Linked DNA regions of Homo sapiens: region 2 is linked to region 1. The links are contacts of gene promoters, found by promoter capture Hi-C in blood cells and fetal thymus (Javierre and others, 2016). All regions are on one chromosome and are shown on one strand. The core of a region is centred on a gene start or on the middle of the fragment in contact, and the rest is flanking DNA. Distances in the headings are between cores, read along the strand shown. Region 1 holds the start of CD7 (CD7 molecule). Region 2 overlaps FOXK2 (forkhead box K2).

Region 1 (2,812 bases), core at 183-2,682:
CCGTCTCTGCACACACGCATGGAGTCACGCGCACCCGTCTCTGCACAAAGTGTCCACACACACCCGTCTCTGCACATGCGTGTCCACACACACCCGTCTCTGCACACACGCGTGTCCACACACATCCGTCTCTGCACACACGCGTGGAGTCATGCGCACCCATCTGCACACACACGTGTTCACACGCACCCGTCTCTGCACATGCGTGTCCACACACACCCGTCTCTGCACACACGCGTGTCCACACGCACCCGTCTCTGCACACACGCATGGAGTCAAGTGCACCCGTCTCTGCACACACGTGTCCACACACACCCGTCTCTGCACACGCACATCCACACGCACACGTCTCTGCACACGCACGTGTCCACACGCACCCATCTCTGCACATGCGTGTCCACACACACCCGTCTCTGCACACACGTGTCCACACGCACCCGTCTCTGCACACACGCATGGAGTCACACGCACCCGTCTCTGCACACACAAGTGTCCACACACAGCCGTCTCTGTACACGCACGTCCACACGCACACGTCTCTGCACACACACGTCCACACGCACCCGCCTCTGCACACGCACGTGTCCACACGCATCCGTCTCTGCACACACACGTGTCCACACGCACCCGTCTCTGCACACACACGTGTCCACACGCACCCGTCTCTGCACACACATGTCCATACGCACCCGTCTCTGCACACACACGTGTCCACACACTCCTGCTCATGTGCTGCACCTACTGGCTTTGGGCACCAACGTCAACGCTTCGTCATTGTGGCGGGAGGCCCTCAGGACAGAGAAGTGCCCCCTCCCAGAGGACTCAGTCACCCTGGGGTCAGAGCCCAGGCACAGGTCTCCCTCAGCCCCTGAAGCTGGGCACTGCGGCCTGACGCACTCCTCCCAGGGAGGTCGGGAAACCTCAGGCCTGGACCATACCTCAGACCTCCCGCCTCCAGGACATGGAACGCAGAGCCACGGTCAGCTGGTCGGCTGCAGCGTTGGGTGCGGGTGCAGGCCCAGGCTCCTTCCCCACGGCCAAACCAGGGGGTGCCAATTCTGGCCTGCCCTGTGCTCCTCTGCACTGTGTGGGTGACTCATGGGTCATGGGTGGCTCCAGATTTCTGGGCATAAATTGGGTCCCAGCAGAAAGTACCCCAGAGGACCAGGCAGGCTGGGGGCCAGCTCTGCCGCTCACTTCCAGACCCTGCCACCCGTCCCCAGCCAGGGAGTCCCTTCTCTGTCCTCTGGTCTGCCCCGCCCCAGGCCTTGACCTCCTCCCTGTGGAGATGCAGGGGCAGTGGGGGATACAGGGACGCCCTGCTCTCAGGGCAGCTCTCAGGGAGGCAGTGCTGGGGAGGGGTAGGTGAGACCGCCCCTCCCACCGGGCCCACAGCACCACCCTGGTCTGAGGCACCGCCTCCAGGAAGCCCTCTCTGAGCTCTGAGCGCCTGCGGTCTCCTGTGTGCTGCTCTCTGTGGGGTCCTGTAGACCCAGAGAGGCTCAGCTGCACTCGCCCGGCTGGGAGAGCTGGGTGTGGGGAACATGGCCGGGCCTCCGAGGCTCCTGCTGCTGCCCCTGCTTCTGGCGCTGGCTCGCGGCCTGCCTGGGGCCCTGGCTGCCCAAGGTAAGAGCTTCCCAGGCTCTCCATGGCCACAGCTCCAGAGCTCTCCCTGCCCCATGAGCTCAGAGCCCCCAGTCTGAGCCACAGCACAGCCCCCAGGAAGCGGGTGGGGTGCTGAGCGGCCTCCAGTGTCTGAGGACTCATTTAAGAGAAGGAAAAAGGGTGGACCCCGGTGGGGAGTGGCCGGGGCTGTCCAGGCAGGGCCGCTGCTTTGGGAGGAAGAAGCCCACAGTCTCGGAACACGAGGACAGCACCTCCCCCAACACCACAGCCGGTGCCCAGATCTGCTCCATGCCCCGTAAGGCACCGTGTCTTTGGCGACATGTCAGCCCTGGGCTGTCTCAGGGCCCCACCATCCCCACCACTGTCCCCTGCAGGGAGGACATTCTCTGTCCTTCTGGCCAGACTGATGGTGACAGCCCAGGTCCTCCCCAGAGGTGCAGCAGTCTCCCCACTGCACGACTGTCCCCGTGGGAGCCTCCGTCAACATCACCTGCTCCACCAGCGGGGGCCTGCGTGGGATCTACCTGAGGCAGCTCGGGCCACAGCCCCAAGACATCATTTACTACGAGGACGGGGTGGTGCCCACTACGGACAGACGGTTCCGGGGCCGCATCGACTTCTCAGGGTCCCAGGACAACCTGACTATCACCATGCACCGCCTGCAGCTGTCGGACACTGGCACCTACACCTGCCAGGCCATCACGGAGGTCAATGTCTACGGCTCCGGCACCCTGGTCCTGGTGACAGGTAGGGAATGTGCCCATCCCAGACCCCCCTCCCAACCCCAGCTGCTGGCCAGGCTCTGCTCCCCCAGCCCTTGTCGTGGGACCCTCCCTCCTACATGTGCCTGAACTGTTCCAGCTCCCAGCCCACTGCCCCCAGCAGCCTCCTAGATAGCTGCCCCTCCTCCCCTCCACAGCCTTTCCCTGCCCCGAATCCCAAACCCCGGGGGCTCTAACAGGTTCTCCACCGGGAGAATCCCTTCCTTCTTTTTTCCTTCTCAGAGGAACAGTCCCAAGGATGGCACAGATGCTCGGACGCCCCACCAAGGGCCTCTGCCCTCCCTGCCCCACCGACAGGCTCCGCCCTCCCTGACCCGCAGACAGCCTCTGCCCTCCCTGACCCGCCAGCAGCCTCTGCCCTCCCTGCGGCCCTGGCGGTGATCTCCTTCCTCCTCGGGCTGGGC
Region 2 (2,812 bases), core at 147-2,646, 220 kb before region 1:
CTATGTTGTCCAGGCTGGTCTCGAACTCCTGTCCTCAACTGATCCTCCCGCATCAGCTTCCCAAAGTGTTGAGACTACAGGCCTGAGCCACCACGCCCAGCCACCTTACAGTGCTGAGATTACAGGTCTGAGCCACCACGCCCGGCCACCTTACAGTGCTGAGATTACGGGCCTGAGCCACCACGCCCGGCCACCTTACAGTGCTGAGATTAGGGGTCTGAGCCACCACGCCCGGCCACCTTACAGTGCTGAGATTACGGGCCTGAGCCACCACGCCCGGCCACCTTACAGTGCTGAGATTACGGGTCTGAGCCACCACGCCCGGCCACCTTACAGTGCTGAGATGACAGGCCTGAGCCACCACGCCCGGCCACCTTACAGTTTTAAAAGCTTCAATACTTTTCTATTTCTCCCTCCCATTCTCATACCACATTTTCTACCTCAAAAAGAAATCCCATCACCTCTCAGTCTTAAACATTCCAAACGTGTTTTTCTTTCCACCAGAAGATAAACCAGGAGAGGAAGAAGAATCAAAATTCTGAAGGACTCTTCATCAATACTCTTCTAACTGTTTTGGAAGGAGATCTGGCTGGGGCAACCCATGCTGGGCTGAGTGGCTGTGAGCTGTGGGTATGGCGTAGGGTACAAGTCCCTTCTCTGGGCTGGGCCTCAGTGTTGTCCAAGGGGTGAGCCCCAGGCCTGCCCTGGGGCCAGAGGTGACAGTGAGGGGCTTGAGGAAGGGCCCGGCTGGAAAGATGCATCCTAAGTTTGGTGGGGTTCTTTTTCATTCCCTATAAAACACGGTGCAGAGCATTTTGCTCTTCTACACCATACATGATACACAGAAAAACCCCATGCGGCTCCTGTGGGGACTGTGTCCACCAGCAGAGGACAAGGGCATTCTTCTGTCTGCAACAACGAAGGCAAATGCGAGGACGGTAATTTTTCCTTTGACAAAATGAGCTTAATGTTGTTTTAATTGGAGACAGGATCTTGGTCTGTCACCCAGGTTGGAGCGCAGCGGCACGAGCATGGCTCACTACAGCCTCAACTTCCCGGGCTCAAGTGATCTTCCCATCTTAGCCTCCCAAGTGTCCAGGACTGGAGGAATGCACGACCACACCTAATTTTTAAATTTTTTGTAGAGAAAGAAGTCTCACTATGTTGGCCAGGCTGGTCTCGAACTCCTGGCCTCCAGCAATCCTCCCACCTCCCACCCGGCCTATATCTTTTTTTTCTTTTTTCAGACGGAGTCTTGCTCAGTCGCCCAGGCTGGAGTGCAATGGCACGATCTCGGCTCACTGCAACCTCTGCCTCTTGGGTTCAAACGATTCTCCTGTCTCAGCCTCCCAAGTAGCTGGGATTACAGGCACCGACCATCATGCCCAGCTAATTTTTGTATTTTTGTAGAGACAGGGTTTCACCATGTTGGCCAAGCTAGTCTCGAACTCCTGACCTCAAGCAATCCACCTGCCTCAGCCTCCAGAAGTGCTGGGATTACAGGTGAGAGCCACTGTGCCTGGCCACGGATTTTTTTTTTTTTTTTTTTGGAGACAGAGTCTCCATTGCCAGGCTGGAGTGCAGTGGTGCAATCTCAGCTCACTATAACCTCCACCTCCCAGGTTCAAGGGGTTCTCCTGCCTCAGCTTCCAGAGTAGCTGGGATTACAGGCGTGTACCACCACGCCCGGCTAATTTTTTTATTTTCAGTAGAGATGGGGTTTCCATGTTGGCCAGGATGGTCTCAATCTCTTGACCTCGTGACCTGCCCGCCTCGGCCTCCAAAAGTGTTGGCAAACAGGCATAAGCCACCGTGTGCCTGGCCTTTTTTTTTTTTTTTTTTTTTTTGAGATGGAGTCTCACTCTTGTCGCCCAGGCCGGAGTGCAGTGGCATGATCTCAGCTCACTGCAACTTCCACTTCCCAGGTTCAGGCAATTCTCCTGCCTTAGCCTCCTGAATAGCTGATTACAGGCACACACCACCATGCCCGGTTAATTTTTTGTATGCTGGCCAGGCTGGTCTCAAACTCCTGACCTCATGATCCGCCCACCTCAGCCTCCCAAAGTGCTGGGATTTCAGGCGTGAGCCACCGTGCCCGCCCGGCAATGGATAATTTTTCACATCCACTTTTACGGTCTAAATGTTCTACAAGAAGTATTATTTCACAATATTTTTAAATTTAATAATATGTTAAACTTTAATCATTTAAGAAAGACTATAAGCATCATACCAATTCAGTCAACAAGTATCTGAATTTCTCAGGAATAACCTTCCTAACATAATACCAGCAGCTCCAGCCCAGCATCCCACTCACTGGTCAGCTGGAGGCTGGCCCCCACCAACTGCCCAGGAGCTGAGTGGATCCAGCAGCAAGAACCTTCTACAACCAACCGCTAAGCTTTATATTCTATTCTTTTCCTAAACAATGTTTTCTAACCTTAAGTGCCTACCAGAAGCTGCTGGAGACCTCATTCAAAATGTATTGTGTGTGTCTGTTCTAATGTGTCTGGAGTCTGACTGACACAAGGCACTCCTCTTCTGTTTTGCCTAAGTCAGATCCAAGGCCAAAAAAAGCTTAAAAACATTTCAAACCCATTTAACTCTCAGATGCCTGGGGCAGAAGATTACAGTCCCAACATACAACAGACTGCCTAAGGCGAAAACCTGGGTGTGTTTCTGGGAAATCAGGACATTCAGAGGCCTCAGTGTGTGCTGGAAAATTCAGAAAGCTACACACATGCCCAGGGCAAAAGGCCCCCTCTGCGAAGACCTCCTCGGCCTCGAGCTTGCTTTCACTCTGGGCTGATCCCTA

Evidence for each region. The method cuts DNA at HindIII sites, captures the fragments that hold promoters and counts their contacts. A CHiCAGO score of 5 or more calls a contact.
Region 2: a contact is called between a fragment that was not itself captured here and the fragment with the promoter of CD7 in region 1, in 2 of 17 cell types (naive CD8 T cells and activated CD4 T cells). The highest score is 5.5, in naive CD8 T cells.

What each region holds. Positions count from the first base shown.
Region 1 is chr17:82,316,228-82,319,039 of GRCh38, reverse strand. It overlaps CD7 (CD7 molecule), which reads left to right and starts at 1,432. Exons shown (of 4, transcript NM_006137.7): 1 at 1,432-1,626; 2 at 2,059-2,373; 3 at 2,631-2,812. The coding sequence starts at 1,545. The HindIII fragment of the contact is 24,830 bases long and covers 1-2,812 here.
Region 2 is chr17:82,536,655-82,539,466 of GRCh38, reverse strand. The region is part of intron 1 of FOXK2 (forkhead box K2); the gene reads right to left. Among named protein-coding and RNA genes, the nearest start is that of FOXK2, 18 kb to the right of the region's middle. The HindIII fragment of the contact is 2,008 bases long and covers 393-2,400 here.